Regions from separate parts of the Homo sapiens genome. Here regions 2 and 3 are each linked to region 1. Evidence: promoter capture Hi-C in 16 types of primary human blood cells and fetal thymus (Javierre and others, 2016). All regions are on one chromosome and are shown on one strand. Each heading gives the region's core, a stretch centred on a gene start or on the middle of the fragment in contact. The rest is flanking DNA. Distances are from core to core; before and after follow the strand shown.

Region 1 (3,888 bases), core at 692-3,191:
TTCATGGTCAGCTGTGTTGGCAAAGAACTGTTCTGAAAGGAAATCTTTTTTGTTTTGTTTTTTTTGTTTGTTTTTTGGATCTTTTAGAAAAAGGTCTGCTTTCTCTGCAATAATTGTGTAGCAGTAATATTAAAAAGTGTCTCAAAAATAGACATATCATTGGAGTGGGTGAGTCTGGAGATTAGAGGAGAATTGCCATTTTGAAAAACCTAGCAGTTTGGCAGGTTTTCCTATTCATCTCAGCCTACTGAGATCTCCATGGTATCCTTTGAGTCAATTTCTTTTTTTACCATGCCCACTTATAAAAAATTATTGAGGTTCACATAACATAAAATTAATCATTTTAAAGTGAACAACTCAATGGCATTAATACATTTACAATGTCACCCAACCACTACCTCTAATTCCAAAACATTTCACTTACTTCAAGGTAATGAAACCCTTGTCCATTAAACTGTCTCCCAATTCTCCCCCTACCCTCAGCCTCTGGCAACTACTATTCTGAGTTATTTCACTATGGATGTATCTATTTTAGATCTTTCATATAAATGGAATCATACCATATGTAACTTTTCATATATTACTTCTTTTACTTAGCATAATGTTTTGGAGGTTTTTGAGTCACTTATTAACGCTGTATTTTGTTCTCACTTAATAGAAATCCCTGGTTGCCCCACCTGTCTGATGAAACTTTAGTAAATAATCAACAATAATGACAGACGTATTTAAACAGCAAGTTATATCTTAAGGATGGTGATGGACAATGTTAAACTAAAACTGGGACATTTCATCAAGTAAAAAACTACACAAAATCTCAAACCAAATTCCTCATTAGCAAGACGCTACCATAAGATGTCTGAAGAAAAAAGCAGGCAGAAGTGGGAAAAACTGACCACAGCCGAGGGCCAGCTGTGGAGGCCCTCAGACCTGGGAAGGGTAAACGGGGAAATCACATCCTCCCGTCTGTGTGCCCGGAGCACCTAAAACCTGGCTGAAAGAGTCCAGTCCAGCCTTACTGCAGTGATCAGGCAAGAAATGTAAACCCAGTGCTTGAAACCAGGCAGGTGCAGTCCAGACTCGCCCTCACTTCCCCACTGCCACTCTTAAAACCTTCTAGCCCTGACTTGTTTCGTTCTGTCATGTGGATTGAGTGTTTGTGTGGGTTTTATGAAGGTGGTATTTTTAGATGAGAAAAACGAAGATTATGGCGGCACACTTAACCACACAAACACAAAACGTCTGTAACAAATGCTATTTTATCTTCAAAGGAGAATTATATATAACCTTGAGGAGGGGATGAGGTTTATCTTCATTTTTTTCTGTTTCTCCTCCTCTCCTCCCTTTTTTGCATTTGATAATTGCTTAGAATAAAGGTATGGAAAGTAGATCCCAATTTCAGTTCCCCTTCACACGCTGTGCAAACGTGGACAAACAACCTCTGAACCTGTCACCTCTCAGTGGAAAAAGTGGTGATAACGTCCCACCTCAGAATTGATGCTCAAAATGAAGCAGTATTTGTGAAACGAAAATACACACGCTCGTGGTACGCCAGATCGGTGTTTACGTCCTCGTCAGTGAACGCGTCGATGTTTAATAAGAAGGGCAGCCAATCAACACTTTTCTTGTCTTTTTCTCGTCTGCCTTCCTCCAAGGACTGTGAGGGTCTCAAGATGTGTCCCATCTCGGTTGTTTGTCAACCTAGTCCTGCTATGTCGTGGGGACTGAGCAGGCCGACTCCTCCCCCATCGCACGTCCAGGATGAAGAGCGCTGTTTAGGTTTGAAACCTGCAGACTCAGTCCCAACCGAACTGGGCAGACACCAGACCGGCCCCGGCAACTGCAGTCCAGGCTCCGCCTCCCTACGCCCATTGGCTTATTCAATTCACGCAGGAACCAATGGGCGGAGACGGCAGCCGCGCCGTCTGACGGCTTAGCCGCGGTGCAGACTGCGGCGGCGGTGGTCTGAGGAAGTTCTATCTTGGCGCTAAAGCGGAGACGCATCCCCCGACCCGAGGCTACGATGAGCACACCGGCCGTGCCCCAGGACCTGCAGCTGCCCCCGAGTCAGAGGGCGCAGTCCGCATTCAAAGGTGAAGGCCGCGGTGGCGGTGGCGGTGGCGGTGGCGGTGGCGGTGGCGGGCGCGGGCCCGGCGGTCGGGGCTCGGGGCCGCGCTGGCGCGCTTCACCTCTCCCCCGCTCTGTGAGATCCCTGAACGCGGCGTCGGCCTCGCCCTGCCTCATTCTTGGCCTTGTGGAACGGATCATAAAAACAGGAACCGCTGCGTGGTGTTACTGTGCGGTCGCTGCTGGCTGGGATGGGCCCTCCTAAGAAGGAATCCGTTAGGCGAGGGGAAACGCGCGGGCCTCAGGCCGGGGTCGGTGTCGGAGACCCTGGGTCCGCTTGGGGGCGGGGCTGCACAGGTTCAGGGACCGACTGCGCCTGCGCTGGGTCCTCCGCCTCTTAGGTCCCTAGCGAATTTCTGCAGGGCTGGGGTCGCATCATGTGTTATTTCCAATTTCACAGCTTCTCCTTCGACTTTATGGAAACCGAGGGTTGGTTGGGTCTTCAAAACTAATATTGTTATTCCCTTATTCTACACACGGGAAAGCAGAAGAAAGTAATTCTCATCTAACCCAGTTCTGGTAAATTAGAACTTTCGAGTCTAGTGCCTCACTTCTACCATTTAGTTTCTTAAAGCTTGGCTAGCAGGAGCTGTATGTAGAAAATGATGTTCTCCAGATTTTTCACAGGGAGTAGAGAATGTGATTCTTATGCAGAGGGGTTTTGGGGACCTGTTGTGGTAACAGTCTCTTCTAAGGTGATTTCTCAAAGGCAATATTGAATTGGAGAATTTTCTGTTATATAGATGTGACCTCAGGTGGAACCAGCTTTGGAAGTAAACTCTTCATTTAGTCAACAAGATTTATTTGCCGTTATCGATGTTTTAACTAATATTGACTTGTAGCTCTTACCTTTGTTATCTAGAGCAAAGAAGACAAAAACTCAAGGAACATCTGTTGAGAAGAAAAACGCTTTTTGCATACAAGCAGGAAAATGAGATGTTATCCAGGTAAGGTCAAGTTTATTTCTTTTCACTTCTGTAAAATTGTATCAGATCTGTCCAATGAAAATGTAAAGTAAGCCATATCTGTAATTTTAAATTTTCTAGTAGCCACATTTAGAAAAACTGCTTACATATTATTTTACGTCTTTTTGTGGTACAACGTCTTTAAAATCTGGTGTCTATTTTACAGTTACAGGACATTTCCATTTGGTCTATCCACATTTCAAGCACTCAGTAGCCACATTGGCTAGTGGCTACTTTATTGGATGGTGCAGCATTAGATCATCGTTTTATTAATTTTTTTTTTTTTGAGACAGAGTCTCACTCTGTTGCCAGGTTGGAGTGCAGTAGCGTGATCTTGGCTCACTGCAGCCTCCACCTTCTGGGTTCAAGTGAATCTCCTGCCTCAGCTTCCCAAATACCTGGGACTGACTACAGGCAAGTGCCACCATTCCCTGCTAATTTTTGTATTTTAAACAGAGACCGGGTTTCACTATGTTGGCCGGGCTGGTCTTGGACTCCTGACCTTGAGATCCGCCCACCTCAGCCTCTGAAAGTGCTGTGATTACAAGGATGAGCCACCGCGCCCGGCCTAGATTATCGTTTTCTACGTAAATTAATTCACAGTCTAAGAGAAAAAAACAATTATAAAGCAAAGTATGTGCATAGACTAGATTATCAACTTACTGTTTACACCACACAAAGGTCAGTCTTTCTATTATTTAGCAAAGCTTTTTACTCAGTGTATGGGGGAGTTCATCAGGGAAGGGTTGGGTGGCCCTCCCAAATGCTTAGAGATTACTAGTTGTAGTCTCAACCCTCC
Region 2 (3,888 bases), core at 989-3,488, 1.0 Mb before region 1:
TAATCAAAAAGAAAGACAGGATAGTCCTTCCTTGTCACTGTGGGACAGAAAGGCAGTCAGACAGTAAGCAAATAAGCACACAAACTACTACTTAATTACACACTATGATAAATACTATAAGAAAAAAGTTTTTTTTTTAAAGGGTCAAAATAGAATCCTATGCACCAGCCTTGACAAATGCAGATCACAGCCTCTGCTGGGTCCCTTACCTGGGTATTTCTTCTCACTAAACCTCCATATCCCATTTAAAATTCAATCTTCCCTGATGGCACAAGTGTCTCTAAGTCTTCTCTAACCCCTGTAAGAAGAATTAGGGGTCTCTCCTTTTTGTATTGTGATAGAGAATAATAAAATCAGTAAAAATTTCTGAGCACTTATCTCATTTAATCATATGACAACCATGAGATGTAGTTATTATCCCCATTGTAAAGATGAGAAAACTGAAACTCAAAATGAGCAAAAAAATTATACCTCTAATAAGTTGCAGAACCAGGAATCAAACTTTGGTTTTTATGACAGAAACACATTCTTTAACATTTTAAATATCTACCTTAAAAGTGAAATGCAAATAGTAGTATGGATTCATGACCTATTTTCTCTTTCAGAAAAAAATATTTCCTAGCTCTGTACTGAAAAAGCCTGAAAATGATGATTAACTCAATGGCAATGCACCCTTTTCTAAAACCCATGCTATGGTTTCCATATACCACGTCCTAATACATGGAACCTGACCTGATTTCAGGTCTGAAGCAAAAATGTACAAGATAAGCTCAGAACAAGCTGTCACACTAGAAAGCAAAGAAGCTTTCAAGCTTACTTTATCACCCCTTTAATTTCTGATAACTGCCCGTCCACATCTAGTCTCTCCTTCCTTCTACTAATTAAACCCCCCAAATTTTAACTGGACTCACAGCCACCCAAGCAGGGATTAGTTTCCACTCTGCCTTACAGCTAAGTGTGGCCAAATTCTAGTTGATGGAGTCTCATTGCAACGTCATTTATGTTTTAGGTCATGCTTATATTAGGAAGCTGTGTGCCTTTACTCCTTCCCACAGGCTGAAATCCAGTTGTATGATGTGCTGTGAAACCAGCATCAACCATTCAGATAAAAGCAAAGATAGAGGAACAAAGTAGAAGAAACCTGGAACCCTAGACAATAGCTTAGAGCAGAACCACTCCACTTCCCTGACTACTACCAGTTCTATCTTTGATGTGAAAGGAAAAGCCTTCTGTATTTTTAAACCAGCTATTTTTGTCCCAATAGAGAAGCTGAACCAATATCCTAAAAAATATACCTTGCCAGAAGCTTTTCAGAATCCTTGAAGGTTCAACTAGTTGTTTGTTAATTTGTTTTTCTTTGTTGCAGAAAATATGCATTCAAAGAGGCACTGTATGTGTGTTAAGGGCAGGAAAGCACCCATTCTAATCAAACTAATGCTAAATCTTTCCGTGATTTAATAAATAGAAAGTTGGTCCCTCCAACATCTAGTCCAACTCTAGTCCCAATTATTCAGATTTGCTTGGATAATGTAGATGGAAAAGAAGCTTAATAAAAGCTTTTTTTAAAGCAAATAAAATTTTAACATTTTTGGTGAAACTGAGTGGGTATTTCTTAAATCCTATTTCTCAAATATAATACAGCCGCAGGTCCTATTCATAACATAACAGACAATAACAAGAAAATATGTAAGTACTATCAGGCCTTTATAGATTCATTTCCGTTTCTTCCTTCTATATATGTATGTATGTAGTTCTTCTATACACACACACACACACACACACACACACACACACACAGTTCTAAGACTCAAGATTGAATTCCTCAACTTCCTTTCTCTCCCTATGATTTCACCGTCCAACAATCCCAATCCCTACTTCTTTCTAATTATTTCCAAGAACAATTCGAAAGTCAAGAATATCCAAACTGAAATGATGCAGTGGAAAAAGGTATACTAAACAGATCTGCCTATCCTAGAATATATAAGAAACTCACAATTAAAGAACTACTGCATTCTGTTATAGCAACTTAATACCCTGACAAGTATGAGAGTTTTTTTTTTTAAAGGAAAGGATGTACTAAATGGCACAGAACCGTTCACTTAAAAAAAAAATTCTTTAAAAATCTCTCTATTTGAAAAATTTCAATCTCACAGAAAAGTTGCAGTGATTGTACTATGAGCTCCAGGGTCCCATTCATCTAGATTCATAGACAGTTTACATTTTGTCACATTTACTTCTTTCTCTTTTATATAATAACAATAATAATAATGGTGATTGATATGGTTTGGCTGTGTCCCCATCCAAATTTCATCTTGAATTGTAACTCCCACAATTCCCACATTTTGTGGGAGAAACCCCCATGGGAGGTAATTAAATCATGGGGATGGGTCTCTGCCATGCTGTTCTCATGATAGGGAATAAGTCTCACAAGATCTGATGGTTTTAAAAACAGGAAGTTTCCCTGCACAAGCTCTCTCTCTTTGCCTGCTGCCACCCATGTAAGACATGACTTGCTCCTCCTTGCCTTCCACCAGGATTGTGAGGCCTCCCCAGCCATGTAGAACTTTAAGTCCATTAAACCTCTTTCTTTTATTAATTGCCCAGTCTCGGGTATGTCTTTACCAGCAGCATGAAAATGGAGTAGTAGAGTAATATATAATTATTAATATTTGACAAACTATTTGAGAGTAAGTTGAGTCACCAAGCCTTTTAGGCCAAATACACACACTTCTGTGCAGATGAACACGGATAAAGCCACGGGAATGAAATTGTCCAAGAGTATGTCAGTAAACGTGTAAGAAAATCTAAAACTAAACCAGTAACACTCAGGGACAGGCAAATACACTAAGGTCAAGGATGGAAATTAAAACAAAACAAAAAGCCAAAGCAGAGCCAGGAAAGTGTAAACACAGAAGTCAAGAGAAGCTTTAAAAAACAGTGTTCAATAGTGCTGGCAAAACATCATGAAAGAAAAACTAAAAAGCAAATTTGGATTTGGAAGATAAGGACATTATTAGTGATCTTATTAACAAAGGTAGAATCAAAAGTCAGACTGTAATAGATTTAAAAGGAGGTAGAGAAGTCAAGGAGATAACAGAAATGATCTCTAAATTTGTTGCAAAAGGAAATAGAGAAGATAGGCACCAGAGAGGAAAATAGTGTGGGTGTATGAGAGTAAAGATACAAGTTCTTCTATTTGTTTCATTCATCTATTTAAAGTGGCTGAACCAGGAAGTCAGAGTTGTACAATCATCACCACTGTCTACTTTCAGAACATTTTGATCACCTGAAAATGAAACCCTTCTATATACATTAGCATCCTACCCTTATCCCAAGCCTCTGGCAACCACTTATTTCTGTTTCTATGGATTTGCCTATTCTAGACACTTCATATAAATGGAAATTTGCATCAAGTAGCCTTTTGTGTCTGGCTTTCACTTAGTTTTCAAGGTTCATCCATGTTGCACTATGTGAGAGAATTGTATTCCTTTTTAAGGCTGAATAATATTCCATTGTATGGATGTATCATATTTTGTTTATCCATTCATCAGGTAATAGACATTTGTGTTGTTTCCACCTTTTGGCTATTATGAATGACATTAATATGATGTTCACTTACAGGTTTTTGTGTAGACATGTTTTCATTTCTTTAGGTATATACCCCAGAATAGAATTATTGGAGTTAGCATAAGGTAACTCTATGTTTAACTTTTTGAAGAACCACCAAACTATTTCCCAAAGCAGCTGCATCATTTTACATCCTCACTAGCAAAGTATGAAGGTTACAGTTTCTCTACATTCTCACCAACATTTGTAACTGTCCATCTTTTTTATTATATGTCATAGTAGGTGTAAACTGCTATCTCATTATGGTTATAATCTGCATTT
Region 3 (3,888 bases), core at 462-2,961, 1.0 Mb before region 1:
ATCTGGTCTTATTTTTCTGAATCTTAAGATATAATGCTTAGAAATTTTCAAAACTACCTTAAGTTAAATGAAAATATGGTAGTTAACTCATCAACTCTCCAGGAAAAAAGTTATAAATGTAACCCTAATACTGGTTGGCATACTACATTGGAAAAATTGACTAATGAACAAGGTTAATAGCTCTATATTAACTAGCTACACATCAGAAACTTAAAGTATGAAGCACAAAACCAAAAAGTGCCATTAAATACTTATGTATGTTATTAGAATCTAGGCCTTAAAGTAATTACAGTATAAAATCCTGTCAACTATCCCATACGTCCCCAGGCCTCCCCACCTCCAGCCTTTTTTTTTTTTTTGAGACAGATTCCCACTCTGTCACCCAGGCTGGAGTGCAGTCGCACAATCTTGGCTCACAGCAACCTCCACCTCCTAGGTTCAAGTGACTCTCCTGCCTCAGCCACCTGAGTAGCTGGGATTGCAGGCGTGCACCACCATGCCTGGCTAATATTTGTGTTTTTGGCAGAGATGGAGTTTTACCAGGTTGGCCAGGCTGGTCTTGAACTCCTGGCCTCTAGTGATCCTCCCTCTTCAACCTCCCAAAGTGCTGGGATTACAGGTGTGAGCCACAGGGACAGCCTCTCCTATGTTTTTGACCATGATTTTTTTTTTTTTTTGAGATGAAGTTTCGTTCTTGTCGCCCAGGCTGGAGTGCAATGGCGCAATCTCAGCTCACTGCAACCTTTGCCTCCTGGGTTCAAGCGATTTTCCTGCCTCAGCTTCCTGAGGGTGCCTGTAGCTGGGATTACAGGCGCCCGCCACCATGCCCAGCTAATTTTTGTATTTTTAGTTTCACCATGTTGGCCAGGCTGGTCTCGAACATCTGACCTCAGGTGATCCACCCACCTCAGCCTCCCAAAGTGCTGGGATTACTAGGCATGAACCATCGCATCTGGCCATTGATCATGATCTTCACTCTGCATTGCCCCCTAACCTGCAAGGGTTCTGGGTTCTCAGTAAACTTTTATTCTTCAGATGCTACTACCTCTAAGAAGTCTTTCCTGGTTTATCCCCTAGATCGGGGTCCCCAACCCCTGGACCCCATCAGGAATGGGTGGCACAGCAGAAGGTGAGCAGTGGGCAAGTGAGCATTACCGTTGGGGCTCCGCCTCCTGTTAGATCAGCAGCAGCATTAGATTCTCATAGGAGCACAAACCCTGTTGTGAACTGTGCATGCAAGGGGTCTAGGTTATGCGCTCCTATGAGACTCTAACGCCTGATGACCTGAGGTGGAAAAGTTTCATCTGAAACCATCCCAACCACCTCTACCAATCCATGGAAAAACTGTCTTCCACAAAACCAGCCTGGTGCCAAAGAGGCTGGGGACCGCTGCCCTAAATTCATTTACTTTCTGCCAAACAAAGGGAGGAAGGAATCCAACTAAAGCTAATTTTGTAACAAACAGTATTTAGATAGAATGTTACAAGAAAGACTAAATGTAACAGAGACAAAATGAAAAGCTTAGCTTTCAAACAAGAACTGAAAGAAATCATACTGCATTACAGAACTATACACAAAACTGAAGAAAGCAACTCAGATCCACTGCTTATACATTTAAATAAAATGTTATTAAATAATATACAAATCCTTAATAAAATCTCCATAACTGTTCTATCACCAATTACAATTTTTAAAAATATTTCATAAATGTGAAGAAATTAAGCCTCTGAACCTTTCTATGCCTTTTCTTCACCTACAAAATGAGGAAAATTGAGTAAACTTCTAAAATCACTTCCATTCTAAAGCCCTATGAAAATAATAATAAAACACAGAAAGTTTAATGAAAACTTGTCAGTAGATGCAAATGTTCAATTTTTTTAAGAGTGTATATTTTAAAATTCACTAAGCTTCACACTTCAGATTTGTTTATTTAAGTTACATCTCAATAAAAATGTTAGAGATCAGAAAATACAAACCAAAACAAAATTTTTTAAAAATTTAGTATTTTGTTTAAAGTCTGGCAACCATGGTAAACTTTTATAGACTAATAGTAAGACTAAACAAAAATAAAGTTTATATAAGGAAATTACTTTTTTAAGCTGAGTACAATGGCAAGAGCCTGCAGTCCCAGCTACTCCGAAGGCGTGGTGGAAAGACTGCTTGAGCCCAGGAGTTCAAGACCAGCCTGGGTAACACAGAGAGACTTTGTATCTAAACATTTTTAAAATTAAAAAGCCCCAAAAAACAAGAAAAGTCCACCAAGACTAATTTAATTGTAGAGTATAAATCTGAGTCAAGGTTATTATGGCCAAAAATCATTTTATATATTTGAGAAACATTTCAAGCTATAAAATACTATATAATCTCTTTGTAGAAATCTATGACATGAACATGACTAAATAAACAATCCTTTTAACTAATTTTGACCACAAATGACCTTAATTCAAAATACACAAATAAGTCCAATGATGTCAAATATTAGATTTGTTCCTGATCTTTTAATTTCCAGCTGTATATAATACATAATTATCGATATTCTCCTATATCGAAAGAAAGTAAAATGCTCTTTAAAGTAGAATATATTATTTGGTTTTTTGTTTGTTTTTGTTTTGTTTTGTTTTTTTGAGACAGCCTATTGCCCAAGTTGGAGTGCAGTGGCACCATCTCAGCTCACTGCAACCTCCACCTCCGGGGTTCAAGCAATCCTCCAACCAGGACTCCAGGAGTCCTGAGTAGCTAGGACTACAGGCACATGCCACCACCCCCCAGCTAATTTTTTTTTTTTTTTTTTTTTTTTTTTTTTTTAGTAGAGATGGGGTTTCACCACATTGTCTAGGCTGGTCTCAAACTCCTGACCTCAAGTGATCCACCTGCTTTAGCCTCCCAAAGTGTTGGGATTACAGGTGTGAGCCATGGCACCCGGCCTATTTTTGACTTTTGTATTTAAGATTTGTTTTGAACAATTTCTAATTAAGAATGCAATAATGGCCAGGGGCGGTGGCTCACGCCTGTAAATCCCAGCACTTTGGGAGGCCGAGGTGGGCGGATCACCTGAGGTCAGGAGTTTCAGACCAGCCTGGCCAACATGGCGAAACCCCGTCTCTACCAAAAATACAAAAATTAGCCGAGGGTGGTGGCGGGAGCCTGTAATCCCAGCTACTCAGGAGGCTGAAGCAGGAGAATGGCTTGAACCCGGGAGGCAGAGGTTGCAGTGAGCCAAGATCACGCCATTGCACTCCAGCCTGGGCAACAAGAGTGAAACTCTATCCCAAAAAAAAAAAGAATGCAATAACATCCTTAGGATAGTGTTTTTCATTTTTCTTTTTTTTTTTTTTTTCAGATCATGACTGGAGAATTTTTTCTTTTAGAAAACAGTTTTAGAGTATAAAATTCTGAAGAAATATTTTGCAAATGTTTTAAAAGAAAATAAAATCTGGGTTTGGGGATATTCCTTCTCATTTAAATTATACCACCATTAAATTAATGCTCTATAGGAAATAAATCATATCCATTTTGTACTACTTTGAGCTCAGTTAAATCTTATTAAACTATCCCTTGATTTACCCAACATATGTGCTCCTAAAAGGTTCCCTGCAAATCAAACTTGTGTAAATCTCATCTAAAACGCACTAGGGGGAGCTCCCTATTTGAAAGAATCCTAAGGCATGTGCTTTTTTCACATAAGTATTCTTGCAAAAGAATGACTTTCTGACTTATCTGCTAAATTATTTAAATTGTTTTAACACTTCTTTAAAAACATCATCCTATGCTTATTAAATGCCACTGAGACAACTTTGGCCAAGTTATATTAATTTTCTTTCACACCTGCTTTTCTGGGATACAATACAAAGCCCAAAGAAAAACATATACTTCGTGATACTAATAGAT

The links. Contacts are between HindIII fragments. The CHiCAGO score rates a contact against its expected background, and 5 or more counts as called.
Region 2: a fragment that was not itself captured here is called in contact with the fragment with the promoter of CKAP2 in region 1 in 1 of 17 cell types (total B cells); the score reaches 5.6 in total B cells.
Region 3: a contact is called between a fragment that was not itself captured here and the fragment with the promoter of CKAP2 in region 1, in 1 of 17 cell types (non-activated CD4 T cells). The highest score is 5.6, in non-activated CD4 T cells.

Annotation. Positions count from the first base shown.
Region 1 is chr13:52,453,537-52,457,424 of GRCh38, forward strand. CKAP2 (cytoskeleton associated protein 2) reads left to right here and starts at 1,942. Exons shown (of 9, transcript NM_018204.5): 1 at 1,942-2,090; 2 at 2,987-3,071. The coding sequence starts at 2,021. It overlaps CKAP2-DT (CKAP2 divergent transcript), which reads right to left and starts at 1,810. Exons shown (of 1, transcript NR_185890.1): 1 at 1,239-1,810. RefSeq lists enhancers at 1,093-1,272, 1,563-1,642. The HindIII fragment of the contact is 3,306 bases long and covers 1-2,696 here.
Region 2 is chr13:51,413,074-51,416,961 of GRCh38, forward strand. The region is part of intron 4 of INTS6 (integrator complex subunit 6); the gene reads right to left. Among named protein-coding and RNA genes, the nearest start is that of INTS6, 38 kb to the right of the region's middle. The HindIII fragment of the contact is 1,369 bases long and covers 1,555-2,923 here.
Region 3 is chr13:51,441,480-51,445,367 of GRCh38, forward strand. All of the region lies in intron 3 of INTS6 (integrator complex subunit 6), which reads right to left. Among named protein-coding and RNA genes, the nearest start is that of INTS6, 9.6 kb to the right of the region's middle. The HindIII fragment of the contact is 387 bases long and covers 1,519-1,905 here.